4 separate regions of the Homo sapiens genome follow, and regions 2, 3 and 4 are each linked to region 1. The links are contacts of gene promoters, found by promoter capture Hi-C in human tissues and cell types (Jung and others, 2019). All regions are on one chromosome and are shown on one strand. Each heading gives the region's core, a stretch centred on a gene start or on the middle of the fragment in contact. The rest is flanking DNA. Distances are from core to core; before and after follow the strand shown.

What was found. Contacts are between HindIII fragments. The study calls those that stand out against the background at their distance.
Region 2: a contact is called between a fragment that was not itself captured here and the fragment with the promoter of AMT in region 1, in 1 of the 25 tissues and cell types used here (lymphoblastoid cells).
Region 3: a contact is called between a fragment that was not itself captured here and the fragment with the promoter of AMT in region 1, in 1 of the 25 tissues and cell types used here (liver).
Region 4: a contact is called between a fragment that was not itself captured here and the fragment with the promoter of AMT in region 1, in 1 of the 25 tissues and cell types used here (IMR-90 fibroblasts).

Annotation. Positions count from the first base shown.
Region 1 is chr3:49,420,723-49,428,009 of GRCh38, reverse strand. It overlaps AMT (aminomethyltransferase), which reads left to right and starts at 5,537. Exons shown (of 9, transcript NM_000481.4): 1 at 5,537-5,649; 2 at 5,739-5,906; 3 at 6,438-6,518. The coding sequence starts at 5,560. NICN1 (nicolin 1, tubulin polyglutamylase complex subunit) reads left to right here. Exons shown (of 6, transcript NM_032316.3): 2 at 1,582-1,758; 3 at 2,014-2,127; 4 at 2,572-2,643; 5 at 2,957-3,061; 6 at 3,136-5,677. The coding sequence ends at 3,177. RefSeq lists enhancers at 5,156-5,909, 5,910-6,662. The HindIII fragment of the contact is 4,289 bases long and covers 4,740-7,287 here.
Region 2 is chr3:49,176,375-49,183,661 of GRCh38, reverse strand. CIMIP7 (ciliary microtubule inner protein 7) reads left to right here. Exons shown (of 4, transcript NM_001080528.3): 3 at 5,124-5,180; 4 at 5,610-6,028. The coding sequence ends at 6,026. It overlaps KLHDC8B (kelch domain containing 8B), which reads right to left. Exons shown (of 6, transcript NM_173546.3): 6 at 7,176-7,287. Among named protein-coding and RNA genes, the nearest start is that of KLHDC8B, 8.4 kb to the right of the region's middle. The HindIII fragment of the contact is 5,587 bases long and covers 302-5,888 here.
Region 3 is chr3:49,664,000-49,671,286 of GRCh38, reverse strand. BSN (bassoon presynaptic cytomatrix protein) reads right to left here. Exons shown (of 12, transcript NM_003458.4): 9 at 6,733-6,864; 10 at 6,434-6,488; 11 at 5,969-6,058; 12 at 1-3,697. The coding sequence ends at 6,448. Among named protein-coding and RNA genes, the nearest start is that of APEH, 6.7 kb to the left of the region's middle. RefSeq lists an enhancer at 4,397-4,691 and a silencer at 4,397-4,691. The HindIII fragment of the contact is 4,016 bases long and covers 2,098-6,113 here.
Region 4 is chr3:49,636,672-49,643,958 of GRCh38, reverse strand. It overlaps BSN (bassoon presynaptic cytomatrix protein), which reads right to left. Exons shown (of 12, transcript NM_003458.4): 3 at 807-1,691. Among named protein-coding and RNA genes, the nearest start is that of APEH, 34 kb to the left of the region's middle. RefSeq lists enhancers at 4,768-5,267, 5,268-5,769. The HindIII fragment of the contact is 7,249 bases long and covers 1-6,985 here.

The DNA.
Region 1 (7,287 bases), core at 4,288-6,787:
TGACGTCAGGTGATCCACCCACGGCATGAGCCACCGTGCCCAGCCCTGTCTCTCTTGTCTCAGGAGCTTTGTGCTGTGGTGTGTGGTTCTCCCCCAAGCTGTTCCTTACCATCAAATGGGAAACTTAATTAAAGAGCCCAACCTTGGAAATCCTGACTTAGTAGACTAAGGTGAAGCCAGGACAATTTATTTGGTAACACATTTTCTTGGGTAATTCTGATGAGTATCCAATGACAAGATCCACTGCAGTAGTCAAGCTGAATCACTGGCTGTTCCAGTGGCACACCAGGTTCTCTCACCCTTTGGTAATTATTTGTATATGCTACTTTTACATTATCTACATTTCTTTTTTTTTTTTTTTTTTTCTGAGAGGTAGCCTCGTTTTGTCACCCAGGCTGGAGTACAGTGGCTTGATCTTGGCTCACTGCAACCTCCACCTCCTGGGTTCAAGCAATTCTCCTGCCTCAGCCTCCCGAGTAGCTGGGATTACAGGCATGCGCCACCACGCTCAGCTAATATTTTTGTATTTTTAGTAGAGATTGGGTTTCACTATGTTGGTCAGGCTGGTCTCGAACTCCTGAACTTAAATGATCCACCCGCCCCAGCCTCCCAAAGTGCTGGCATTACAGACAGATGTAAGCCACTGCACCCAGCCTACGTTTTCTACATCTCTTTTTTTTTTTTTTTGAGACCGTGTCTTGCTCTGTCGCGCCCAGGCTGGAGTGGAATGGCGCGATCTCAGCTCACTGCAAGCTCCGCCTCCTGGGTTCACGCCATTCTCCTGCCTCAGCCTCCCGAGTAGCTGGGACTACAGGTGCCCGCCACCAAGCCCGGCTAATTTTTTGTATTTTTAGTAGAGACGGGGTTTCACTGTGTTAGCCAGGATGGTCTCAATCTCCTGACCTTGTGATCCGCCCGCCTCGGCCTCCGAAAGTGCTGGGATTACAGGCTTGAGCCACCGTGCCCGGCCACGTTTTCTACATTTCTTAGTCCACTTGGTGAACTCTTCCTCCTTCAGGCCTCATATGTACATTTTCTGCCTCTTCCAGGGTTAGAGCGCTGCTCTCTAGCAGCATCTTGGACGTGTGGCAAGATCTGCAGTCGTGGTTTGTTTCCAGGACCTACTCATTTAGACTGTGAGCACCTTTAGGAAGGCAGAATTGTCTTTGGGCCCTAGTGATACTTGTTGAAATTGTTAGTTTAGTAGAAGAGTACATTGAAAGGGGAAGAGGCAGGTGGATCACCTAAGGTCAGGAATTTGAGAGCATCCTGGCCAACATGGTGAAATTCTGTCTCTACTAAAAGTACAAAACAATTAGCTGGGCGTGGTGGCACGTACCTGTAGTCCCGGCTACTAGGGAGGCTGAGGCAGGAGAATCGCTTGAACCTGGGAGGTGGAGGTTGCAGTGAGCTGAGATCACGCTACTGCACTCCAGCCTGGGCAAAAGAGCAAGATTTCCTCTCAAAAAAAAAAAAAAAAGAAAAGGTGGGGAGAAGGAAGAGGTGGCACCTTTGATCTTTGAGCTTTTCAGGCCCCTGGGCCTGGGTCTGACTTGTTGTAATGGGTTGTATGTGTTCTAGTTGCAGGAAATCACGTTTAAGAATTACTACACAGCTTTTTTGAGCATCCGTGTCCGTCAGTACACCTCAGCACACACACCTGCCAAGTGGGTGACCTGCCTGCGGGACTACTGCCTAATGCCTGACCCACACAGTGAGGAGGGAGCCCAGGAGTATGTATCGCTGTTCAAGCATCAGGTCAGCTGGGCCTCAGGATGGCCAGGGCAGCCCAGATGAGGACTTACCAGAGGTGGGGGGATTGGATCAATATACCAAGAGGGAAGAGGGGGCCAGTCTGGCCTGAACTGTGACTTCCAGGGAAGTGCCTTGGAGGGACTACTGTTCCTTCCTTCCCAAGGCCTGTGGGGTGGGCAGCATTCTGGCTCATTGCTGGTTGGGAGGCTTCTGGGCAGTGAGCTGGATCCTTGCTGGGTCCTTGTGTGTGTGTGTCAGATGCTGTGTGACATGGCTAGAATATCGGAGCTACGCCTGATTCTGCGGCAGCCATCACCACTGTGGCTGTCTTTCACAGTGGAGGAGCTGCAGATCTATCAGCAGGGACCAAAGGTAAGTGACTAGCTCAGCTGCTGGCTGGCCCTTTCCCCAGAAAGCTTCTATGACTGGGAAAGCTAGGTGGTGGGGTGGGTAATGGGTGAAGATTGTGAATGGGGCCTTCATGGAGGTTAGCTGGGTGTGAATGCTGGAAGCTCACAATGAGAGGTGAGGCCATGTCCCCATATCCCCTGACCTTTGGGGCCACCTGCTACTTTCAGAGCTGGAGCCTTTAGGTGCTGGGAGACACTTTTGAGCTTGTGTTTCTGAGGACTCCGTCTGCACAGCAGGAGAACTTAGGTAGTCTGACTGCCTCTTTAGGTCTCTGTGGGCTCCCTAAACAGGGTTTTCCCAGTGTCTGAGGCCCAGCGGCCCTTCTCTCTGCTCCTAGGACCTTGGAATCTGGTCCCAGAGCTGTCCACTTTGTCTCACTCAGGGCAGTACATCTTTGCTTTGCAGAGCCCCTCCGTGACCTTTCCCAAGTGGCTCTCCCACCCAGTGCCCTGTGAGCAACCTGCACTCCTCCGTGAGGTAAGCCCTCACCCTAGGTAAGAACCATGTGTGAATGGCTCTAGTGTCCAACACAGGCCAGGTAGACCCCTTCCTGTAAAATTCTGGGGCTGGGCCCAGGGCCCTTGGGTGTTATCTTCCTCCTGGGTATTCTGTGGGATTTGAGGCATCTCTGTTGTGGGGCTACATCAGGCCCTAACCTCATGTTTCATAAGCCATCTGAGAATGTTGTTGGTCTCAGCTGGAGGGCCCCTAGCCCAGGTTGGCCTCTCTGGAGCCTGAAGGGCACTGCTGGGGAGAGACCCATGGCCACTGACCCCTCCTTCTGGAGCAGGGTCTCCCAGACCCCAGCAGGGTATCCTCCGAGGTGCAGCAGATGTGGGCACTGACAGAGATGATCCGGGCCAGTCACACCTCCGCAAGGATCGGCCGCTTTGATGTAAGTAATCGCTTCCTTCTGCTTGGCTTGCTTTGCCCTGAGCAGATCAGACCTGATGGTCTTTTGTATTTCAGGTGGATGGCTGTTATGACCTGAACTTGCTCTCCTACACTTGAATGGTTGCTCCTAGCCAAGATGTTGGCCTTTCTGTGCCCACCCAGACTTGGTTTGGGCCACCAGAGGCTGAAGTGTATTTCCTGTGCATTCCAAGTGTTGCCTGCATGCCTGTTCTGTCTGGGCCACATTCACAGATTCAGGATTCTCAGGGGCTTACCGTGTTACTTCAGCATGAGCTCCTGGCATGGGGGTGCTCTGTCTTCGCCTGGCTGCAACTCAATTCTTCCTTCTACCCAAAAACACTCCAGTCAGTTGTACTTACTGAGAATCCCTGAGTGCCCTCTGCCCCTTCTGGCAACATGCACATTCCTGTCTTCTGCCTGCTCCCTCATGTCAGTGCAGTTGGGCTGGGCTGACCTACTAAAACCTGCTCCATGTATGGACCTGGAAGGCCATTGCTGCCATGGCACTTGGGACACTTGAGGAAGAAACAGAAACCTTATTTCTTCCTGTGTGTCCCCTAGTGGTTTTCTTTCCATTTGTGTTATGCCACAGAGAGAAATTTCCTGTCTGAACTCTTCTGCTGCCTGCCTAGGAAGGAAACCTGAAGATTTGGGCAGCCTGAGTCTCTTGGTTTCTGAGCTGGCTCCTGAATATATGTTCAAGTGGGTGTGCCCATAGGGCCTGGGCACGTGTCTCTAGCAAAACCAGGGCCTGAGCATAAGAACTGGGACCCTTCTAGGCAGGGTGCAGTGGCTCACGCCTGTAATCCCAGCACTTTGGGAGGCCCAGGCAGGCGGATCACCTGAGGTCAGGAGTTCAAGACCAGCCTGACCAACCTGGAGAAACCCCGTCTCTACTAAAAATACAAAAAATTAGCTGGGCGTGGTGGTAGGCACCTGTAATCCCAGCTACTTGGGAGGCTGAGGCAGGAGAATCTCTTGAACCCGGGAAGTGGAGGTTGCGGACCTGAGATCATGCCATTGCACTCCAGCCTGGGCAAGAAGAGCGAAACTCCATCTTAAACAAACAAACAAAAAAAAAAGAACTGGGACCCTTCTGCCATCTGACATAGCCCAAAGCACATCTCTATCCTTTCTCCCAGTTGCCCCTCTCCTTTTTTGTTGTTTTTTTTGAGGTTGAGTTTTGCTCTTGTTGCCCAGGCTGGAGTGCAATAGTGCAATCTTGGCTAACTGCAACCTCCGCCTCCCAGGTTCAAGCAATTCTCCTGCCTCAGTCTCCCGAGTAGCTGGGATTACAGTCATGCATCACCATGCCTGGCTAATTTTGTATTTGTAGTAGAGATGGGGTTTCTCCATGTTGGTCAGGCTGGTCTCAAACACCTGACCTCAGGTGATCTGCCTGCCTTGGCCTTCCAAAGTGCTGGGATTACAGGCATGAGCCACCGCGCCCGCCCTGCCCCTTTCCAAGAGATATGCTCAGCATAATGAGAGATCAACCGTGGTGGGGAGTGGGTCCAAGTAAGGGTTCTCATTGTTGCCTTTTAAGAGGCCTAAGTCCTGCATTAACTCAGTCCAACCATTAAGTGATGCAGGCTGCTCTTCCCTCATGTGAGAAAAACCTGTTTCCCTCTGGTTCTTCCTGGCTTTGCACCTGGTGGCTATTACAAAGCAGTACTGCAGTATGTCTTGGACCTGGAAAGTTGGACATGTGTGTGGCTCAACAGTTTTCTCGGGGGAGTTCAGTGACCTTTTGGTGGCCACCCTCTGTTCTCACCTGTGAGTTCTTGCAGGTGGCGACTTCATCTGCAAGGTCACTTACATAGCCCCACTCAGCTGCTTCGGAAAGCGTGACGAAGCAGTAGTCCTCAGTGTGTGTGTAAGTGAAGAGGACCTTGTGGTAGCAGGGACCATGCTTCATTCGTGGCTGTGTCCCCATCTGAGGGCCTGGTATGCAGTAAGATCAATAAATACTTGTGGAATGCATGACTGCTGGCTGCCTGTGTCTGCCTGGTGGGAGAGCTGTGGAACTAGGGGTCCACATGAGGACAGACTACTGTGGTGCTGCCTACCTGCCAGGCTGGCCCACCTTCCCCACCCCCACTTGACCTTACTCTCTTGAGGTCCTAAAGGTATGATTCAGACCTTTCAGCCCTTTCCAGAACTTTGACCCTCTGGAGACAGGGCGGTTCTGCAGGGGGCGGTCTAGCCCCTAGCTTTGTTCTGGGCAGCCCAATCAGCTCTGGATTGCCCGAGCTGCCCTGAAGAGTCAGCCGAAAGAGCTGGAGGCTTCTTCCCTGTGGTTGCGGGTTCCTGCATTCTCTGCTCTAAATCCCAGCCTGCCCTTGGGGCTGCCCACGCCCCCTTCAGATCCTTTGCTCCGGAGAGAGACCTGTCCGAGCAGAGGCCTGGACTACATCTCCCGGCGTGCCTGGCAGTGTGGTGGCCTCTGTGCGCCGTCTGCACTCGTTGCAGGCGACGATGCAGAGGGCTGTAAGTGTGGTGGCCCGTCTGGGCTTTCGCCTGCAGGCATTCCCCCCGGCCTTGTGTCGTCCACTTAGTTGCGCACAGGTGGGATAGAGGGTGCTGATCTTGGAGGGTGGGGGAGGGAAGCGGCTGGGGGCTAGGGCCCTGGTGGCACTAAGCCCAGCCGCCCACAGGAGGTGCTCCGCAGGACACCGCTCTATGACTTCCACCTGGCCCACGGCGGGAAAATGGTGGCGTTTGCGGGTTGGAGTCTGCCAGTGCAGTACCGGGACAGTCACACTGACTCGCACCTGCACACACGCCAGCACTGCTCGCTCTTTGACGTGTCTCATATGCTGCAGGTGAGCCAGGGGAGCACACTGGCCATCTGATCAGGCCTTCCTCCCTGTTTACAGTGGTCCACTCCTTGGCTTTGTTTGCTGTGAACTGGATTCCAAGGACAGCCTTCTCAGAAGAGCTAGAGGTCATGGGGGTGTCATGGATAGGTCAATGGCCCCAAGGAAATGAGCTCAGAGGGTCTCATCATCTCATCCTTCTAGCTTGCCCCCATTAAATGGTGTGCCTTAATGTCCCGGGTTTTCCAGGGCTGACACCCACTCTCATGTATTGGGCTGGATGTTGGTTTGAAAAGGGGTTATTTCAGGAAGGTGCTAGGTCCTGTCCAGTTCCCTGGCAGTCCCCCCACACAGAGTGACTGGGGGAGGTCAGGAAATCAGAAGGTGGTCCTTTGCCACGTGTAGAACCAAAAGACTGGTTAGTCACTTTGGGTGGGCTGGACTGCACTGTGGATGGCAGGGAGGATGCATCCTTGCTTAGTAGCCTTTTGGATTGTAGCTGTTGCAATGGCCTGAGGCTTTCAATCTCTTCCCCAGACCAAGATACTTGGTAGTGACCGGGTGAAGCTGATGGAGAGTCTAGTGGTTGGAGACATTGCAGAGCTAAGACCAAACCAGGTGGGCCCTTTTATTTCTGCTCTATGAGTTTTCTTAGTCATGAGCCAGCAAATGGGCTGAGTCCCTACCTCAGGCTTAGGGGCACAGAGATGAGTCAAACACAGCTTCTCAGGGCTTGCAGTCTTGGACAGAATCCCTGAGTCATTTCCAGAGACACAGACATTTGTAGGGAGGGGAATATCCCAGTCTTACTACATCAGGCTAGGAGGCCAGAAACCAAGGTTAATATGCTGCTCTCTGGCCATCCCTTCTGCTTAACCCCTCTCTATTCAACATGTGGTCCCTGGCCAGGCGACGTGACTCAAACACCTGTAATCCTGGCACTTGGGGAGGCCAAGGCGGGTGGATCACCTGAGGTCAGGAGTTCGAGACCAGCCTGGCCAACATGGCAAAACCTCGTTTCTACTAAAAACACAAAAATTAGCCGGGCGTGGTGGCGCGTGCTTGTAGTCCCAGCTACTCGGGAGGCTGAGGTTGCAGCAAGCTGAGGTTGCACCACTGCACTCTGGCCTGGGCAACAGAGTGAGACTCAGTCTAAAAAGAAAAATAACAACAACAAAGTGTGGTCTCTAAACCAGCATCTTTGGAGCTTGTTAGGAATATAGTCTCAGGCACTGCTGCAGACCTGCTGAATCAGAACCTTCATTTTAACAAGATCCCCAGGTGATTCATGTGACCCCCTCAACCTCAGGCTTTTTGTCCATCCAGTGGGGAGGCTAAGGAAGTTTTTTGGGGGCATTGCTATGGAGTACTTAGGAGAGCCTGCGAT
Region 2 (7,287 bases), core at 1,846-4,345, 240 kb after region 1:
TGTTTTCGAGACAGAGTCTCACTCTGTCGGCCAGGCTGGAGTGCAGTGGCACGATCTCAGCTCACTGCAACCTCCGCCTCCCGGGCTCAAGCAATCTCATTACAGGTGTGTGCCACCATGCCCAGCTAATTTTTGTATTTTTAGTAGAGACAGGGTTTCACCATATTGGCCAGGCTGGTCTTGAACTCCTGACCTCAGGTTATCCACCCACCTCAGCCTACCAAAGTGCTGGGATTACAGGATGAGCCACCGCGCCCGGCTGCATGTTTAGTTTTTAAAAGAAACTGCCAAACTGTTTTTGAGAGTGGCTTTACCACTTTATATTCCTACCAGCAATGCATGAATGATCTGGTTTCTCTGCATTCTCACCAATACCTGATGTTGTCTCCATTTTCAATTGGAGCCATTCTGATAGATGTGTAGTGATATCTTATTGTGGTTTTAATTTGCATTTCCCTGATGTTTAATGATGAATATCTTTTTGAGAGGTGACAGCGTGCTGGCAGCCCTCACAGCCCTTGCTTGCTCTCGGCACCTCCTCTGCCTGGACTCCCACTTTGGGGCACTTGAGGAGCCCTTCAGCCCGCCGCTGCGCTGTGGGAGCCCCTTCCTGGGCTTGCCGAGGCCCGAGACGGCTCCCTCAGCTCGCGGGGAGGTATGGAGGGAGAGGCCAGAGGGGGAACTGGGGCTGCGCGCTGTACTTGCCGGCCAGCGTGAGTTCCGGGTGGGCATGGGCTCAGCGGGCTGCACTCGGAGTGGCTGGCCCCCCCGCCCCGGGCAGTGAGGGGCTTAGCACCTGGGCCAGCAGCTGCTGTGCTGAATTTCTCGCCAGGCCTTAGCTGCCTTCCCGCGGGGCAGGGCTCGGGACCTGCAGCCTGCCATGCCTGAACCTCCCCCTTCACTCCCTGGGCTCCTGTGCAGCCCGAGCCTCCCCAACAAGCGCCGCCCCCTGCTCCATGGCATCCAGTCCCATTGACCACCCAAGGGCTGAGAAGTGTGGGCACACGGCGCGGGACTGGCAGGCAGCTCCACCTGCAGCCCCAGTGCGGGATCCACTGGGTGAAGCCAGCTGGGCTCCTGAGTCTGGTGGGGACTTGGAGAACCTTTATGTCTAGCTAAGGGATTGTAAATACACCAATGGGCACTCTGTATCTAGCTCAAGGTTTGTAAACACACCAATCAGCACCCTGTGTCTAGCTCAGGGTTTGTGAATGCACCAATTGACATTCTGTATCTAGCTACTCTGGTGGGGGACTTGGAGAACCTTTGTGTCCACACTCTGTATCTAGCTAATCTGGTGGGGAAGTGGAGAACCTTTGTGTCTAGCTCAGGGATTGTAAACGCACCAATCAGTGCCCTGTCAAAACAGACTACTGGGCTCTACCAATCAGCAGGATGTGGGTGGGGCCAGATAAGAGCATAAAAGCAGGCTGCCCCAGCCAGCAGTGGCAACCCGCTTTGGTCCCCTTCCACGCTGTGGAGGCTTTGTTCTTTCACTCCTTGCAATAAATCTTGCTGCTGCTCACTCTTTGGGTCCACGCTGCCTTTATGAGTTGTAACACTCACCACGAAGGTCTGCAGCTTCACTCCTGAAGCCAGTGAGACCACGAACCCACCCGGAGGAACGAACAACTCCAGACGCGCCGCCTGAAGAGCTGTAACACTCACCGCGGAGGTCTGCAGCTTCACTCCTGAGCCAGCGAGACCACGAACCCACCAGAAGGAAGAAACTGGGAACACATCCGAACGTCAGAAGGAACAAACTCCGGACATGCCGCCTTTAAGAACTGTTAACACTCACCGCGAGGGTCCGCGGCTTCAGTCTTGATGTCAGTGAGACGAAGAACCCACCCATTCCGGACACATTTTCATGTGTTATTTGTCGTCTGTAAATCTTCTTTGGTTAGATGTCTTCATGTTTGTCCATTTTCTAATTAGACTGTGATTTTACTGTTGAGTTGAGAGACTTCCTTATATATTCTAGTCCTCTGTTGGATATATGGTTTATAAATATTTTCTCCCAGTCTGTAGCTTGGTTCGCAGTGGCACGATCATGGCTCATTGCACCCTTGACCTCTTAAGCTCATGTGATCCTTCCACTTCAGCTTTCCTAGTTGCTGGGACCACAGGTATGCACCACCACGCCTGGCTAATTTGTTATTTTTTGTAGAGACAGTGTCTGGGAGCCTTTCCACACTGCCCAGGCCGGTCTTGAACTCCTGGGCTCAAGCAATCTTTCCTCCTTGGCCTCTCAAAGTCCTGGGATTACGGGTGTAAGCCACTGCACGGCCTCAGCTTGCTTTTTTTTTTTTTTTTTTCTTGGAGATAGAGTCTCTCTGTTGCCAAGGCTGGAGTGCAGTGGTGAGATCTCGGCTCACTGCAACCTCCACCACCCAAGTTCAAGCAATTCTCCTGCCTCAGCCTTTCGAGTAGCTGGGATTACAGGCGCCCACCACCACACCTAGCTAATTTTTGTATTTTCAGTAGAGACAAGGTTTCACCATGTTGGCCAGGCTGGTCTCGAATTCCTGGCTTCAAGTGATCTATCCGCCTCTGCCTCCCAAACTGCTGGGATTATAGGCATGAGCCACTGTGCCCAGCCTCAGCTTGCATTTTGAGGAATGAAAGCTTCCCACCTTCTTGGAGTTTTCATTCTGCTTGAAGACTACCATCAGACTGTCTAAGGCAGGCGGTTCTAAAAAGGGAACTCTTTTTTTTTTTTTTTTTTTTTTGAGACGGAGTCTCACTCTGTCGCCCAGGCTGGAGTGCAGTGGTGTGATCTCAGCTAACTACAAGCTCCACCTCCCGGGTTCACGCCATTCTCCTGCCTCAACCTCCCGAGTAGCTGGGACTACAGGCGCCCGCCATCACACCCAGCACATTTTTTGTATTTTTAGTAGAGACGGGGTTTCACCATGATAGCCAGGATGGTCTCGATCTCCTGACCTCGTGATCCGCCCGCCTCGGCCTCCCAAAGTGCTGGGATTACAGGCGTGAGCCACCGCACCTGGCCTAAAAAGGGAACTCTTAAACACACATACAATAAGCTCTACTCTGAAGATTCTGGTTCAGGGATGGAGCCAGCCCCTGTATTTTATCTGGGGACCTGCTGTCAGCCATTACCTATACTCCCAAGCCAGCCAAGCCTGACCTCACCAGATCTGGCCACTTCAGGTCTACAGCAGGAGAAACTGAGTGACTGGAGAGGGAATGGCTCTGCAGGCAGAAGCCAAGCACAAAGGCAAGAAGGTGTTCTTGGGACAGATTCCTGCTGAAGTCTGGAGGCCTAAGAGATGGGCTTTCTCTGCATGGGAGTGGAGCAAGGCTCTCTAGCTCCAACTGAGCCAAAGTAAATGCCCTGGGGCCAGGACCTTCTGTCCCTGTTCATTAATTTTTTTTTTTCTGTTGCCCAGGCTGGAGTGCAGTGGCTCAATCTTAGCTCACTGCAACCTCTGCCTCCCAGGTTTAAGCAATTCTCCTGCTTCAGCCTCCTGAGTAGCTGGGATTACAGCCAAACACCATCACACCCAGCTAATTTTTTTGTGTGTTTTAGTAGAGACGGGGTTTCACCATGTTGGCCAGGTTGGTCTCGAACTCCTGACCTCAAGTGATCTGTCCGCCTCGGCCTCCCAAAGTGCTGGGATTACAGGCATGAGCCACCAAGCCCGGCTAATTTTTGTATTTTTAGTAAAAACGGGGTTTCACTATGTTGGCCAGGCTGGTCTCAAACTCCTGACCTCAGGTGATCCACCCGCCTCGGCCTCCCAAAGTGCTGGGATTACAGGTGTGAGCCACCGTGCCCAGCCTGTTTATTGATTTAACAGCAACATTTATTGAGCTGTGTCAGGCATTATTCTCAGTGCTGAAGTTATAGATGTGAGCAAGACAGACCGCCTTTGCCCACAAGCAGCTTATGTTTAATGGCGGGGCATGAGATGTTCTAATCAGTGGGGGTAACATCACATAGAACAATATAGTATGTTAGCAGGTGAAAAATGCAGGGTTAGGGTGATGGAACTATTGGCCTAGTGCTCAAGGAAGGAAAAGAGGGAGGTGTGAGGGAATTATATGGCCAGGAGAAGGAACAGGTGGTGCAAAGCCCTAAGTGGGAGCACCTGGTGTGTCTGAGGAGCAGTGAGGAAATCAGTGTGGCTGGAGGTAACAGAAGGACCAATATCATGTGGGTCTCACAGACCACTATGATGACTTTGGCTATCACAAATAGGAGGAACTGTTGTGGATTTTCAGCAAATGAGATGTGATCTCATTTATGTACTAACAGAATTATGCTGGCTGCTAAGCAGACAGCAGACTGGAGGGGTAAGTTTGAAAGCAGGGACACCAGGCAGGAAGCTCTTGCAATAATTCAGGCAAGAGAGTAATGTGGCTTGGATCGGGGAAAAGAGTGGGCATGCTGAGATGTGGTCTGGTCCTGGGCACATTTTGACCACAGTATCAACAGGATACTTGCATATTCAATGTGGGGTATGAGAGAAGAGAATCAAGGGGACTCAAGGTGTTTGACAGGATCTGGCTGCCGTGGTCTGAGCTGGGGGAGGCTATAGGTGGAGTGTGTCTGGGGATGACCCAAAGCTCAGTCATATGTTTGGAGATGCTCAATTAGGCATTTACATGGAGATGTGGAGTAGGCAGTTGTCTACTGAACCCAAAGTTCAGGAGAAAGTTTGAGCTGGAGATAGAAATTCCAGTTTTCAGATGGCATTTAGAGCCAAGAGGCTGGGTATGTTGATGGGGGAGTAAGTGTGGATGCAGGGGAGGAGAGGACTAGAGTCCTGGGCAATCAAGAGTTAAGGCCCAACTTGAAACTTGGCCACTGCTCCCCTGATGGGAGGATGTTCTAGCAGATGCCTCCTTATTGAGGACCCTCCTCAATAAGGGTTCCACGGGCTTCTGCTTCAGGGCAAGTCCCAGGTTGAGATATCCCAGGACTGAAGTGTTGCTTTAATTAGTCTCTGCCCTCTGTCTGTTGGCAGTTTAGCAGCTTAGGGGCAGTGGCTCCTGGTGACTTCCCTCCATTAAGGACCCTGAGGCAGTGATCCAGGTAAGGGTGGGTAAATAAGCATCATTTTCCCCATTCACCTTCTTTCTCACTGTCTTTCAAGGAGCCGGCGCAGCGACACTTCTTCTCCAAGCACGACAACCGTACTTCCTTTGACAAAGTGAGTGCCGAAGACAGGAAGAATGGCAGGCAGTCCCCCAGCCTAAGCTGAAGTCTGGACAGAGCAGATGGTAGGGTGGAGGGGATGACACTGAGGGAGGGCTCCTTATGAAGGCAGAGGAGTGGCTGTCTTCCCCCACAAACTTTCTCCTCTGGGAAACAGCCTATTCCCCCAAACAGAGACATCTCTATGTTGGTTTCCTCTGCCAACTTGCCAGACAATATGCAAGTATCCTGTGGGCCACTAACTTTCTGGGTGCTTCACCTTAGAATGAAAGACATCACTGGGGAGGCAGGCCAAGGAGGCCAGGGTACAGGCCAAGACAGCCAGGCATAGGACAGGTATCACCAAGCAGACTTGGGGTTAGGAGGGGCCCAAGAAGGTGCTTGGTGCCAGGAATGTGGGCCAAGGGCCCATACCGTTGAGGAGGGTCCCTATTGCCTGCTGCAGGGAATCGGAAGGCGGAAGGACCTGGAGCGCCTGTGGCAGCGGCACACCTTCCTGCGCTGGGCACCCTGTGAGATAGAGTTGCGCCAGCAGGGGCCCCTGGAATCTTCTTACCAGGCTGATTTCAGGCCAGGCCCAGGACTCAGTGGCCTCCCCCAGCACCTCATCCACTTTGTGCAGGTCCAGCCTTCCCATACCAGGACCACCTACCAGCAGAACTTCTGCTGCCCATCCCAGGGTGGCCACTATGGCAGCTACAAGGTAGGGCCCCAGGCGCCGGTCACTGACGTACTGCCTGACCTCCCAGGGATCCCAAGACCCAAGCTGCTGCAGCACTACCTTCATGCTGGGGTCTCTGAGTGTCTAAACTGGTCCAGAGCATTAAACAAGGACAGCTGACACAGCAGCCTGTCTGTGCTTGCAGCCCACAATGGGATGTAGCCCAAGAGGCTGAAAGGTAGTAGTAGGCTGCCAGGTCCTGTGCCTGTCTCCCATGGCACTTGTGCCCATGGTGTGTTTCTGTGCTGGGCATGGGAGGTGCTGCTCTGGGATCCCTGCCACTAAGTGAGAAAGGGTAAGGCCTGCAGGAGGCTAAGAGTCCAGGAGGATTGCTATAGCCACATCAGGTGGGTTCCAGGGCCCCAAGTACTACTCTGTTCTTGCAGTAAACCCAGCTGTAGAGAGGAAGATTAGAGGGCAGTCCCCAGCCTAAGTTGAAGTCAGGACAGAGCAGGTGGCAGGGTGAAGGGGGTGACACTGAGGGAGGGCTCCTTATGAAGGCAGCGGAGTGACTAACTTCCCCACAACCTTTCTCCTCTGGGAAACAGCCCATTCCCCCAGAGACATCTCTGTGTTGGTTTCCTCTGCCAGCGTGCCAGACAATGTGCAAATATCCTGTGGGCCACTGACTTTCTAGGTGCTTCACCCTAGAATGAAAGGCATCACTGGGGAAGCAGGTCAAGTACTCAGTTTAGCTATGGGGAAAGCAGACCCCAGAGACCAGTACTAGTGGGCGACAAAGGCTGGAAGAAGGAAGAGTTGGCAGCTTTCTCAGGAGGCAGCTGCCTTTGAGGGGTTTGTTGGGTGGCCACACAGTCCTGTCCAAGAGACGGCTGCCCCACAGCTGAGACAGAAAGAGACTGCCCTGGGCCACAGAACCCACTGCACCACCCCTCCCTGTGGGGGTGAGCAGAGACCCTAAGGAGACACTCTGTAACTTGGATCTGGAGGTCTTCCTAACCTTGTGGTATTCTGTTGTTTTCTGAGCACTTCTCTGGTCATCTTATCCTGCCATCCTTTGGTGACATGTGACAGCCCTTCCTTACTGCCCTAGTGCTCTCTAATCCCCAGGACAGTAAGGAGGCGCTGTCATCACATGTTGCCAAAGAATAAGCTGAGGCTCAGATGGAACAGAAACACCAAATCACTTTGGGAACACCGACCAGATCCAAGAGGCTCCTTCTGGACCCTCATCCCTAGGGGCATTGAGACCCCCAAAGGAAGGCAGGGGCAGTGGAAACAAGGGAGTTCACACCAGGGTCCACACACTAGGTTTTAGCAGCACTTTTACTTCCACATCCAAACTCCCTGGGTCCTCACAACAGCCCTGTGAGGTAGGTAGGGTAGGAAGGTTTCAGAGATCCCCATTTATAGATGAGGA
Region 3 (7,287 bases), core at 2,856-5,355, 240 kb before region 1:
AACAAGACATGAAAGCTAGAGGAAAAGGTATTGAGTGGCCACCACTCTCCAGGGTAGTGCACTTGGAGAGAAGGAGCTGATTTGACCCCAGAAACTGAATGAGGCAGAAACACACACACACACACACACGCACGCACGCACGCACATACACACATGATCATGTGCATACACATACAATATCTCACGACTGCCATGGCTCTCCAGTGCCACCCCAGTGCACATGGCAGCAGGGCTGCTGGCACCCAGGGAGACAGAGATGGCATCTCCGAGGAGTTTCAGTTGATTAGGCCTGTCCCTCTAACCCTGTTGGAGTCCATGATGACAAGTATTTACAGCATGGGGGTGGGTAAGAGGAGAGCAGACGGGACAACAGGGCAGGACCATGCTGTCCTGGCAAAGGACCTGCCTGGAAAACTCCCTACAGGCTCCAGAAGGCAAGGCATAGTTGCCACCACTGCTGTTCTTTCACTGTGGGCCCTCAGACCACATGCTCTGCCCAAGGATTGTAGGGGAGGGCTGTCACTGTGAAGTGAGTGCACTGGGCCCTGAAGTGAGCAGAGAGAGGAGGCAATGCCCTTGCTCATGATGCTGGGGAGAGGGGTATGGAGAAGGCCTGGGCTGCATGCTAGAGACTCCTTGCCCATTTGGAGATGTGTCTGTTGCTCTCTACTTTCCAAGGCACCAAGTGCTGGTCCCTCAGCTTCTGGCTGCATTGTCCCCAGAGTCACAACTGCATCCATGCAAGGGCCAGGAAGGACAGTCCATGGACCAGAGGCCTGCTCCAGCCACCTTCACAGAGGGGCGATGATGTATCCTGTGGGTACAGTGGGGGATGAGGAGTGGCAGATGTCAGAATTTCAAACTCAGAGGGCTTGGCCAGAAAGGAAATTTGCTGAAAAGTCAGTACTTTAGAGCCTGAGACTAGGCCTGCTGGAGGCTGACCTCCTAACATTTCCCTGCCTGTTCCCTACTTCTTGTCCCATCCCCTGGCCTGTAGTGGAAAGGACTATTGCCTTGGTCTCCAAGGCACATCCCCACACAGACCTGGTCCTGGGTGGCCAGAGGTGTTAGGTGATGGCTTCCCTCAGCCCTTGCTCAGATGGCTGCATTCAGCCCATACCTGATCTTTGGGATGAGGCAGGTATTCCATGGGTGGGGTGAGGCCAAGTCCCAGAAAGGCAAGGGTGTTAAGTCCAACACAAAGGTTGGCAGCTTCCTGTCCCATCCATAGCTACCAGAGGTGAGCGAGGAGCCCTCTCTGAAGGGGTGTGTAGATCTTATAGAAAAGCATGAGAAATGCGGACCCCTGAGAAATGCATGGTGCAAACCAGAGCACTCTGGACGAAGGTCAGGCCTTGAAGGGTCAGGCAGGTACTGCCTGCCGCACTCCTGGCTCAATGGTAAAAAAGCTGATGAGCAGCGGGACGCTTGGGCTTTGGAGAAGGGGGTGAGCAGGGAGCATAGGTCCTGGGGACAGATGCAGAGAGGGTCACACAGGACCTTCTGTAAGATTTGCTATTGAGAAACTTCACAAGAAACTTAGCTTGAAGCCACTGTTTATATGAACAGTTCCAGATGACCACTGTCAACTGTTCTCACCACAAGTGCCAAAGGCCCAGCTCTTCCTGAGCATCCATTGACCCCCTAGCTCCAGCCCAGATCTCCTGGCTCACAGTCCTTTGAGCCTCCTAGCCACAGAGGAGAGGCATGAAACAGGTGCAGTCAAGAGCTGGGGTCCCTCGGGCACAGCCTGGCTCTGCTCTTGCCTCTGCCTCTCTGGCTGTGGATGCCGCCCAGCTCTGCCCTTGCGTGGTGCCCTCTGGGAAAGGGCTGTCAGATGCCTCTGGCTCAGGGTTGGGGTAGGAAGGGAAAATGACAGACAGACAGATATCCTACAGCAAACCTTCAGAATGTCCATACACACACATCCTGTGCAGGCTCCTACCATTGCGTCTGCTCTGGGGATTCCTTTTTACCTGCTGTCCTGGACAGAGAAAACTGCAGGGTATGTGGGGGCCTTTTACTGCCTGCCCTGCAGCCTGGCACGCTCAGGCAACAATTCTGGCAGGTCCTCACTAGCTTGTGCAGAAGTCAGCTAGAAGTGCTCCTGAAGGAGAGGTTCTGAGGCAAAAAGAACTCCAAGCAAGAGGGTCAAGCATTTAAAATGGATGAAATCGTGCAAAGAGGCTGCGAGCTGTGCATGCTCCACTGCAGGACAGGCGGTGACTCACCTGGCAGCAGCGAGTCCTGCCACAGGTCAAACATGCCACAGACTGAGAATTTCACACACACAATGGGAGCAGGGGTGGGGTGGGGAGGGGTGGGGGTTTTATGAGTGTATCTATCCAGTTTCTCAATTGCATGTTTGCAATTAACTCCTTATACATAACATGGAATTTATTAAATATTAACAGTTGTCATTGAGGGTTTATATTTCATTGCATAGAACGTTAGAGATGAGACTTGTGGCTGTGCCCCAGATGAAAGGAGGCCCCCAAGGGAAGAGCCCTGGGGAGGAATGCTGCCCAGTCCACCGGATGGATAGACAGTGCCACATTCCCCCGCACAGGGCTCTGGGCCTTTCCCTTGGCTGGCAGAAGTCCTGGCCCCTCTGCTCTGAGTACACCCACTGGTGATGGCTTAAGAACGACTGGAATTGCACAGTAAACAGAGGCGGGCTGGGAGGCCTCCCCAGACCTCGCCCTGGGGTTGTGCTCTTGGTGGCCTGCTGCCCCCTATTGCTTCTAAGTCAACATTCTCCCTGTGCTGAGCAGGGGCAGAGCAGAGAGGAAACCAAACCATCAGTCACAAGGTGGTGGTGGAGGGGGAGAGGCAAGGGAGTGAGCCAAGAGAAGAGAGAAAGGGGGAGAGAGAAACAAAAGAAAAATGTTTATGAGGTATACACGTAAATCAAACTGGAATGATTAAGGCTGTTCTTGAAATCAAAAGAAATCCCCAGGTGTACAGACGAGGAGCCGGCTGGTTGAGACAATGGCGGTGCCGCTGGGATGCTCACGATGGCTAGGGGGATGGCTTTGAGATGGTGGCAGTGTGCTAGCACGCTGCCACCCACGGGCTGGGAGAAGCCTCAGCCGGCGCCCACGCTGCTTTTCGGTGCTATGGCCTCTTATTTCAGCGATGAGACAGTGTTAGGTCCTAATGTTTGTAAAGTTCTCCCAACCCCTGGCCACATGGAGGTCTGCTCCGATGTCACCCAGAGGGCATGTGACGGGCAGGGCCCTGTGCCACAGAGGGATCCGGGCCAGCTGGAATGTGAAGGAAACGGAGCCCAGGGCCCCCAGCCCTCAGTCAAAGCCCCTCTCCAAGGCTGTGGAAAAACTTCTGGCATCTCGGAGGGAGGGCAGTGTGTGCCCAAACTCTGTGTATAACGCACGGGAAGCCTGGCCGGCCAGGCCGCAAAAAGGCGGCTGTGGGAAGTACGGCAAGACACCATGGTGGCAGGGTTTCTGGAGAGGGTTCTCCCTCCCAACAAGGGCTGTGCCTTGAAGGTGGTGCCCTGCAGAGAGCAGCATCTCTGGAAAGACAATCAAAGGTCCCCTGGCCAGTGGTCCGACTTGTCCAGCAGATGCTTCACCCAGGCAGCTGCTGTGAGAAAACATCACGTCCTCAACTGAGGCCTGCCTGCCACGTCCCACCTGGTGAGTCTTTGGGCCAAGGGTTTGCCAGATTGTAGATGCTTGAAAGAGAAAAGGAGGGAGGGAGGAAGGAAAGAAGAAAAGAAAGGATTCTGTCAAGAATTGTAGATAGCTGCTTCTCACCCTCACATTCCTCTCAGCCATCTGCCTGTGCTAGCGGCCACCTCCTCACCCACGGGGTGCCATGCCACTCAGGCTTGGGGAGATGGGTGCTTGGGCAGGTTGGAGGTCACAGAGAGGACAGCAAGAAAGAAGAATCAGGTCAGCCAGGAAGGGACACTTCTTTTAATGTAACAAAAGTTCCTTTTTTTTTTTTTTTTTTGGCTTAAGAGTGATGGAGAAGGGATTTGGTTTGAAATGGCAAACCTCTCCAAGCCCATCTCTGAAATTGCCGTAAAGAATTTCAGGAGAGGGATACTCACGGCAGCACTGTCCACTTGACCCAATCATTAGCCGAATGCTAGAACTCAAGGGAGATTTCTTTAACTATAAAGTCAGTGGTCTCAGTGGCCCAACCACACCATGTGGCAGGACGCAGAACAAAGCTGTGTCTGTGCTTCCTTTCCCTGCTCAGGAGCCATACCCTGGCCCCAAACCCAAGGTAGGTACTGTCATGAATCCAGGCCATGGGCTGTCCCTCCTTCCCCCACTTTCAGCACCACTTGTGATTTCACATCTGTTCCAGGGCAACTCCAAGGAAACATCAGCTGAGCGGGAAGCCGCAGGAAGCCCGCTGTGGGAGGGTGAAGGCAGGAAGAACGCTAAGGGCTGCACTATGGCTACTGTAATTAGAATAAATTCCAGGCTCCTTACTTGGCCTGCACAACCCACCCCAGCTGGCTCCCACCCCCTTGGACTTTACCCCTGACCACCTCTCCCCTCCACTGTGGCCCTGGCTATACTGGCCTTTGCCCTGTCCCTGGTCCCATCCCAGCATCCGATCATCCGTCAGTGCTGTTCCCTCCCCTTTTTTCATCCCACCGCAGTCGTCCTCCTCCCTCAAGCTTCCCTCACATATCTTCTGCTCTGAGCACTTTGTCTAGAGCAGACCCCACTGCTTCCATAGCTCTGCTTCTCTGGCTTTATAACACTCATCACTTTCAGAAAGTACCTTTTTAATTGAATTTTATTTTTAAACTTATTTATTCTCTATCTCCTTTAATGGATTGTCAGCTTCAGAGGGCAGGGACTTGGTTTTGTTCTCTGCCATATCCCCAGATCCTGGAAGAGTGCCTGGCACATACCTGGGGCTTGACAAACATTTGTTGAATAAATGGACGGAAGCCTGGGCCTTTCCAGGGCCCCACTGCTTTTCCAGAGAAAGGTAGCCTGTGAGGTATCACACCTAGCTCCTTCCCTCCCACAACCAGTGCTGGCCCGGGCCCAGCATCTGCCAGCCCCAGGGCTCCCTTGAAGTGACCTGCTCACTGACCGCCAGGCCCCGCCATGGATAACACATACATGCTTGTGCACCGTGAGAAGCACCCTGAAGGGGCAAGGAGGGAGAAGAGGAGGGTCCGAGGGCTATGGGATGATGGTCAGTGGTCCTGGCTGTGCACAGAGCTGTACCAACAGCCAGGTGATTCTCCTCCCACCCAGGATGATGCACTTCCTCCTCCTCCCACAGAGGCAGGGCCAAGGCCAGGGCCAGGGCCAGGGCCAGGACAGGCTCCAGGAAGTGGTGTCCCAACCTGCCTTGGCCACTGCAGCCCAGACAGGGTGAGGGCTCCCATCCTGAGGCCCTTCTGCCCTCTCCCTGAGCTGACTTAGTCTGGGGCTGAGACTCCCTTTCCTCTATGTCCCTTCCTGTCTGCCTCTCTACTCCTTCCACTCTTCTATCCTGTGGGCCACAAGCTCAGCCTGTGAAGCCAGGAGTGTTTTGACTTCATTCCCAGAGCTGCAGATGTGACTCTGTGGGGTTTGGGGACTCTAATCTCTTCCAAGTGGCTGGAGCAAAGGCACCAGCAGCAGACATCAGGGAAGAAGCATGTTCCCCTACAGGTGCCACAGACTACCAGGTCCTTCAGGATGACTTTGAACTCAGTGCCCAGCACATAGACTTCAAGTTGTGAGGTGCAGTTAGCCGTGCTGGGCTCTTCTCCAAGGGTGCCACCTGACTTGTCTGGCACCATCTCAGGCAGCTCTGTGGCCCCTGCCTCTGCGGGGTAGAGGGCTGCTGGGCCCATCGCAGCTGAAGGAAACCCAACAGGCCCTTCCCAGTTCACACTTGTCAGAACTGGCTAGCTGTCATCAGCCAGGCCTTGGCCCTTCACCCCTCCTCCGGCCCATCTCACCCTGATCCTGACACTCACTGTTATACGCAGAGTCCAGAGCTGCGCCCAGGCCTCTGACTCCAGAGATTTTTCCACAGCAATGATACCTCTCTTCATTTCTTCAAGAGCCTGTGGAGCATTTAGAGGAGGGCTGGAGAGGAGTTGCATCCCTGGAGGCCTACCTACAACCCAGTGCCAGCCCAGTGCTGTGAGAGCCCTGCAGGGGATGGCAGATGGTTTGAAAGCCAGGGCACTGGCCCTGGCTTTGGCCCCTCCTTTGCTGGGGACCCCTACTGTGTTGGCCCCATGGTAGGGGCTCTGTGCACAGTGTCCCTCCTTTTTCTCCTCCCACATTCAGAGAAGGGAACATTGCAGCTCTGGGTACTGAACCAGCCGAAGACTGGACTCCTCCCAGAGGACCCCTTCGGACTTAGAGCCCCACCCCCACCCCCAGTGCCTCGGGCCTTTCCCAGAAGAGGCAAGGTACAGGCTGCTTGTACTCACCATGCTGGGCATGGTCACCAGAATGAGGAAAATTTTTTGCCAAAAGCAGAGACAGCTGTGACAAAGAAAGAGGAGAGAGCCATCAGGAAATTGGGCCAGACCCCTCCCAGTCAGGGCCACTTGGCATAGTGAAGGCAAGCTCAGCCCAAGGGGCAGAGATTGCCCGGAGAACAACTGGGCATCAGCAGGTGGGCTCTCTGGCTGGCCTCTGCCTGGGTGACTGAGTCTGGAATCATCTCACAGACCCAGCCTGTACCAGAGTAGCCACCCACCACAGACCAGTTGCAGGCAGTGCATACCTTCCGTCAGTTTGCCAGCTTGCTCGGCTGCCCCGCCAGGGAGGATCTTGGAGAACACGCTCTCCCCATCGGCACCTGGCTGGCCGGCGGGAGCCCCTGGGGTTCCTCCAGGCCTGGCTCCAGCCTTCACACCTAGGAGGAAAGAAATCGCCATAATGAGCTATGCACGGCCTGGCTCTTTAGGGTCTAAGAGGGCAAGTACCCACGAGAGAATCTGAACACAGGTACCCTATAAGGTGGGAAGGTGAGAAGGAGGCTAGGGAAATAAAGAGAAGAAGGTAAGAACAGGAAGACAAGGGGTGGGAGAAGGCAGAAAAAAGGAGGTTGAGGAAGGGAAAGAAGAAGAAAGGGAAAAAAAGGCAGAGAAGAGCAGGAAAGGGGAAGGAAGGAGGGAGCAAGAAGCCATGGTCCCCACCCTGTGCTCACCAGTGCCTTCCTGCTTCTCTGCCCAAAGCTGCTTGGGCCCTAAAGCCCCTGTGCTGGTGACCTCATTGGCTTATTCTAACCCCAGGCTTGTTTTCTGCTGGGGAGGTCTACAGCCCCTGGGGCACCTTC
Region 4 (7,287 bases), core at 2,112-4,611, 220 kb before region 1:
GGGCTGGACTCCAGGCTTCGAGGGAACACTGAACCTTACACTGGGCCTCCTGCTCCCTCCTGCCTAGCACTGCACAGTGCTCAGTGCCCTTCCCTGGAGCAGGGGCTGCGGAGAGAATGGCCACAACCCCAGGTCTGTCTCAAACCTTCCTGTGGGAAAGAGAAGCATCTCTGAGCATCCCCAGTAGCAGCTCTAAGGAGAGCCCAGCCCCAGCCTGGGTAAAACATGTGGACCAAAGGCTGTGACTTTGACAAGTAGACGTCAACACTTATGACCTCAGAAGAGACAATCAAGGTTGAATACCACCTTGCTGGGCTGGAGCCTGGACAGTGGGACATGCCCTGCCCCATTGTGAGAAAGCCTCCCACCCCACCCTGGATGTGGGACGCAACCCTCTGCATCATGGCCATTCGATCCCCACCCCTCTGAAGGTCACAGGTCCATGGCAGTGTGGGACCTCAGGTTCTCCTATCTGAGCAGGGGAGGTTGGTGTCTTTCATCAGGGCCATGCCCATGGTAGCTGGAAATGGGGAGGCCAGCTCAGGGACTCTGGGATCAGCCTTAGGGCACTAGTCTGAGTCAGTAGGCACCATTACCCCCAACTCTGAGTGAAAGTTAGTTCTGAGTAGAACTGGGGCCTGAGGTAGGGACAGGAAAGGGAATGCAGCCCCTCTGCAGCATTAGTTGTACAGGAGCAGCCCCATGGCTGCTGCAGACCCAGAACTCTTTCTGGTTCCCATGACACTCACTACCCAGGCCCGGCCTCTCATCAAGGTTCAAGGGAGCATGCTTGGTCCAGCTCTTACCTCCACCAGGTGGGGTGTTGGGTTGAAGCCACACAGGTTGCACACCTGGAGCCTGCAGGTGGTGCATGTGTTATAGTTGGCTGGGCTCTTGCTGCCCACGTTGAGCTCGGCTTGGCACAGTGGGCAGATGGCCCTTTCCTTCGGCATGGTCTTTGGCTTGGCAGCAGCCTTCGATGCTGCCTGATGTTCTGCTCTGCCATGCTTTGGACTGGTTGTTCCCCCAGTTTTCGGCAGGGCTCCAGGTCCAGATCCAGGACCCATTCTAGCCCCAGGCTCAGTTTTGGCTCCAGGTGCTGGCCCAGGCCCGGGCCCTGAGCCCAAGGGTTTTGGGCCAGCCTCCTTGCTGGCATCATTGAAGACGATCTTAGGTGTCCCCTTGCTGGGGGCAGGCTGGCCCTGGGTGTCAGCCTCGGGCTGCACAGACATGAGGGTGCTCGCCTGGGTTAGCAGTGACGCGCCAAGGCCGAAGAGCTTACCAGTGAGGCCCTCCTGGGTCTGCTCAGTGGCACCAAGCCCAGCGGGCACTGCGGTGGCACTTTTGGCCGGGGCCTCTCCTGCAGGTGGCCTGGGCTCAGCTGTGGAAGGCTTGGTGGGTTGAGGGGGCTGAGGAGACACCCTCCCCACCTCTGGAGGGGCAGCTGCTTGGGCAGGCCCCGGCACTGAGGTGGCCCTGGCTGTCTCAGCCTGGCGGGACCCAGGCTGTGGTCCTCCTGGGCCCCGAGATCTCTCTTGGTCTGGCTTCCCCAGGGGCTGTTTGGCCGGGGAGTGGGCAGGAGACAGGGCTGGGGAGTGCAGCTGCTGCTGGCTCTTGGAGCGAGGTGCAGTGGTCATGTCCATTCCCAGAGCCCTCTGCATCTGACAGTTCAGACAGAGCCACTCCTTCACCTGAGGAGAAAAGCAAAATAGTCAGCAGGGTGGCCAGGATTGGCAGTACTCATGGCCCAGGTCAGTGCAGGCCCCACAGCAGCCAAGGCCACTCCTAGCACAGGCAGGAGCACCAAGCCCTGCTCAGGCATTTCTGGGCTGCCAGGTGGCAGGGCTGAAGGACAGATGGCACTCCCCTGCCCTCTAGGAGTTGCCAGGCATGTGAGGCAGTGGAGGCAGTCCCATCCCCCACCCCACCCCAACCACCAACTCACTGCCTGCCAGACCCTCCTGCTTGAGAGTCCTCCCCGCCACCCCCTGGCAGTGCCTCAGATCTGTGCACCCCAACCTCCCGCTCGGATGAACCCAGTAGCCTTCCCCTGCTTCCCACTTCAGGCCATTTGCACATAGCAGCCAGACTGATCTTTTAAAACCTAACCCAAGAGGAAAGGCATGGCCCTAGAGCAGTGCTTATATGCAATGGGTATTCAGTAAAAACTCACATAATGAATAAATAAGTGAAGAGTAATACGTGGGAGAAGGAGGCATAGAGAATAAAAAGAAACCATGATTCCTATCCTGAAGAAGCTTAGAGTCTAGCTGAAGAAACAAGATACTACAGAATGAAAAATCTTGAGAACAAAATAAGCGAGGGTAAAGTAATGCAATGTAAGTGACTGATGTTAAGTAGAATTTTTTAAAGCCTTTTTTTTTCCCTTAAGGAAGATAGCTTTTTAAAGAAGTGGGATAATTCATGCCTCCAGAGCAAACGAGACATGTGCCGCTATCCATGTGATAAACACATAGTTTCCCTCTGCCATTAGCCCTGTGCAGGGATGGGCACGTGACCTGGCAAACAGAGTCGGTTAGAGCCCTCCACGTTATCTGGTAATGAACAACAGGAGAGAGGGTCTTTATTCGTTTTCCTTTGGATTACTAATCAGAAGGATGTAGCTTTGCAGCAGCAGTAGTCTTCTTTCCCAACATACAGAGAGATGCTAAGAATGATGTCCATAGATGGTAGGAGTCAACGAAAGGAGAAAGGAGTAGATCTGATGACTTCATTCCATTCCCTGGATCTGGCTATGCCCCAAGTCTACCCTTGGACTTCCAGTTACATGACCCAATAATTTTTCTCCAAAAACCCACATGTAAATCAGAGCATCTCACCAATAGGATCAAACACTCTAAGTGGATTTCCACCACACCTTGGGAACTCTTCAGCACAACTCTGTGACCCAACCCAGCCCCACCCCAGCCTCCCCCTCTCTCTGGTCTCTTTTCCTGCCATCTCCCCTTGGCTGTTTCACTGCAGACACTCTAGGCTGTCTGCTCTGCCAAGTGGTCCCCTGAGCTCATTTCTGTACCAGGGCCTTTGTACTCCTTATTCCCTCTGCCCCCTGGCCCAGCTTGTTGTACAGATTTCAGATGAGGTAACACTTTCCCACCAGGACCTCCTCTGGCCACACAATCTAAAATGCTCTCCTTTGGCCAGGTGCGGTGGCTCACACCTGTAATCCAGGCACTTTGGGAGGCAGAGGCAGGAGGATCATTTGAGGTCAGGAGTTCGAGACCTGCCTGACCAACATGGTGAAACCCCATCTCTACTGAAAATAGTAAGAATTGGCCAGGTGTGGTGGCGAACGCCTGTAATCTCAGCTACTTGGGAGGCTGAGGCAGGAGAATTGCTTGAACCCAGGAGGCGGAGGTTGCAGTAAGCCAAGACTGTGCCGCTGCACTCCAGCCTGGGCAACAGAGTGAGACTCCATCTCAAAATAATTAAATAAATAAATAAAAATAAAACACCCTCCGGGTACTCTGTGTCAAATCACCCAGCTTATTTTCTCCATAGTGCTTATTCTTTCCCAAAGTGTCTACTGATTTGTTGTTTACAAGGTGTCTTCTGTGCCCCAAAGCAGCCCATGAGCTCTCGTTGATAGGGTGTTCTCAGGGCTGCACACAACATGTGGTACAGAGCAGGGCTCATCCCAGAGGGGCTTGCTTCATTCATCCTGGCAATTTGGTCATGCAGGTCATAGCTCAACAAGGTGGAAGCCCCGAGATTTGGTGCCTCAATGAAGAGTCTCCTCCTCATCAACCAGAGCTGAGGCTGGAGGCCAAGGTTGTTCTCTGTCTGTGGTTGCAGCCAGAGGTTCTAAATGCACCCTATTGGCCACCCAGTCATCACCAGGGGAAGGTGCCGTCTCATCTCTGGGGCAGAAGGCCCCTTTTATTTACCCACACGTGGCTCCAGCCCTGCTCTCTGCCTTGAGGCCCCAGGGCTACTGCTACAGGTTGACTTGCCAGTTGGGGGACCTGGGCTCAGGTGCCTTATCCCAGCAACCCAAGGGCAGCAGCCAAGAAGAGGGAGAACACTGCACTTTGGCAAGCACCCCCTTGTGCCAAGCACCACATAGGGCATGTTCACAGGCATTCTCTCATTTTGTCCTCACAGGAGAGAAAACCAAGATCTGAGATGTTTTAGCAATGTGTTCTCAATGGTTCCCTGGCTAGGAAGTGTTGCTGCTGGCAAGATCAGCCCTGACAGCTCTGCGTAGCTCCTAAACCACAGCCTGGACAGCCTGGAGCCTGGTGCCTTCTGTAGTCCTGCCTCTTCCAAAGGCCAAGTCAGGCTCTAGAAGTCAGCACTGCAAACCCTGGCAGAGCCCCCCAAAGGCCAATCCCAGTTCTAGAAACTCTAAGAACAGTGATGCCGAGGCAGTGAGGTGAGAAGCCATCCCACTAGCTGGGAACAATTAACCCACCCAAATGCTTTTTAAGAAGCAAGGCAGGCCGTGCACCGTGGCTCACGCCTGTAATCCCAGCACTTTGAGAGGCAGAGGCGGGCGGATCATGAGGTCAGGAGATCGAGACCATCCTGGCTAACATGGTGAAACCCCGTCTCTACTAAAAATAGAAAAAATTAGCCGGGTGTGGTGGCACATGCCTGTAGTCCCAGCTACTTGGGAGGCTGAGACAGGAGAATCGCTTGAACCTGGGAGGCAGAGGTTGTAGTGAGCCGAGATCATGCCACTGCACTCCAGCCTGGGCAACAGAGCGAGACTCTGTCTCAAAAAAAAAAAAAAAAAGAAAAAGAAAGAAAGAAGCAAGGCAGCTTTGTCTATGTTTGGGTAGAGAAAGCCAGAGAGAAAACAATTTCAGTCCCTGAACCCAGTCTAAAGACCTCTTTAGAAAGGTCATTCTTGGGAGGGAGGGGCTTATTCCCATCAAAGTGAGAGTTCCCCAGAGCAGGCCATTTCTACTCATCCAGAGAGGGACCCTGGAAGGGGATTACTCCTCAGAGGGGAAGCTCAGCCTCTGGCCCAGGGTGGCAGCCACAAATTCAGTTCTTCCCGTGGGTGCCCAGCCCACACCCAACGTCCCATCTCTCTCATTCACCTGGGCACTGCAGCATGCCCTGAGGTGAGACTTCTTCCTGGGAAAGGGAATTTAGGAGGTAAGGCTTCTTATCCTGCAACTTTGGGGTGACTGTCCCTGGGGTTCTGAATCAGGCTGAACAAAGGCACGTGCCAAACCGCCTGCACTCACCGCCAGAACTTTCCTTTCCCCAGCCCCTGTCATCCAGGCTGTGGCACAGGCATCTCACCTAAAATAGAACTTCTCCAAGAAAAGGCTGAAACGCCCCTCAGTGACTCATCGCCCAGATGGGTGCAGCTATTTCTATCCAGCCTCTTCCAGACGGTAAGGAACCTTGACCGCACCCTCCCCACAGCCCCTCCCAGGCTCAGGCCCAGCATGCAAGGCCTCCTAAGGAGGACACTGGCTGAGGGAGCTCTCTGAGGCCAGCAATACATCCCCCTCTCTGCCTCCCCGACAGATCCCCAGCAGTTTCCTGGGAGGAGCCCAACCTCAGTCTCTTCCTCCATACTGCAAGGCCCCTATCCCCACACTCAGGGGGATGGAGGCTGTCCACGGGGTAGGGAGAGAGATGATGGCTGTGCACCCCAACCCACCCGCCCACCCAGCCTGGGTATACATGAATAGTTCTGTGGCAGACTCCACTGGCCTGAGTGCCAGTACAGTTAGAGCCTTCCTTAGCTGCACACAGTGATGCCTCCTCATCAAGAGGTTGAACCCAGAAGGCTCCCTGTGGCTCCTAGGCCCTCTCCAAGCTGGCTCTCCATCAGAATCAGAGGGACTATCCTTTTACCAGTGTGACAAGAAGCCTCAGCTAGGGTTCTGCTGTCTAATACCTCCAAGATCCTGATCTGGCACATGGGCAGGAGATGTGCAGGCTACCAGCCACGAGCCTCGTGTCTCAGGAGCCTTCCTGGGGCTACCCTAAGGTGGACAGCTCTGTCAGACATTAGCTTTGAATGAGCTGACTCTTCTTGCTAGCAAGGAAGCCCATCTTGCCATCTCCAAGGACTGGTAGGGACCTCCATGGAAGCCCGTGCACCCCGACCCAGTGGGGGCCTAAGTGGCAGTAAGGATGGGAAGGCTCAGTGCAGTACAAGGTCAAGAGGTGGTTTAAGAGGTGGGGGAAGCAGAAGCTGCAGGAAGCCTTCCTACAGGCTTTGCAGGGAGCCACTGCCACCTGTCTGCTAGGGACTTGGAAACATAGGACCCTGTGGGCTCTGTAGCTCTGAGAGGACTTTCTCCCTGAGAAGAGTCTTTTTTAGCTGCTTCCTTACTCAAACTATTCAGTGTGCAGAAGGGCAGCTAAGGTGGCACTGGCCAAGGATCCAGAGGCTTGGGGCCCAAGCTGGAGGCTGTATGAACTCTAAGTTGAATGAGCAGCTGTGATCTGTCTGCAATGGTCACTCCCTGGTAATTCCTCCACTGGGCTCTGGAGCAAGGAGGGCAGTTCTGGGAAGAGCTTCTACATCTTCCCTGCAGGAACACTGGCTGCACAGAGTGTCTCAGCCCTCAAGGGTGGGACTCAGCCTTGCTTGCCATATCTGGCCCCAAAGGATGCTCACAGGGTGGAGTCTACCTCACGGTCACCTCCATGGCTGTCAGGAAGCTCTGAGAGCCCCCCGAAGTCACATGTTCTCTTCCCACTCGCCTCCTCTCACCCCCCCAGCAGCAAGGAAAAGGAAGGTTGCAGACGTCACTCAGCCTTCTTCCTGTGGAGAGCCCCAGCCCTACCAGGGAGAGCAGGCATTCAGTGTTTCAGATCACTCAGCACTGACATCACGCCTGATGCCGCATTTATGCTTTCCATTTTGGTACAAGTTGAAACATCACAGAAACAGCTCATAAAGGAGCCCTCCCTGCAGGTGCCAAATCTAGAGGTTCCTGGGAGGGCCCCACTGGCCAGTGTGACTATATGCCTTTCTGGGCTATGAGTCACTGGCCAGGTCTCATCAGGAGGAACATACCTTCCCATGCCCCCTGGACAACAAGGACAGGCCGATGTGCAGAAGGGCAGCTAAGGTGGCAGCTGAGAGGGAGGGAGTCAGGCCTAGCCTGGATACTCACCCTGGTACAGCAATAGACATGTTGCCTGCCCCATCTAGCACCTTACTGTCAGCTAGCTGACCTCAGGCTTAGGAAGCAGGTACCACAGGGTCCCAGTGGGCAGGGTCACACTGATCCAGAGCTGGACCAGCCAGGGGAGGCCTGTGCCAATCTATCAGAGCCCTGAGGAAGG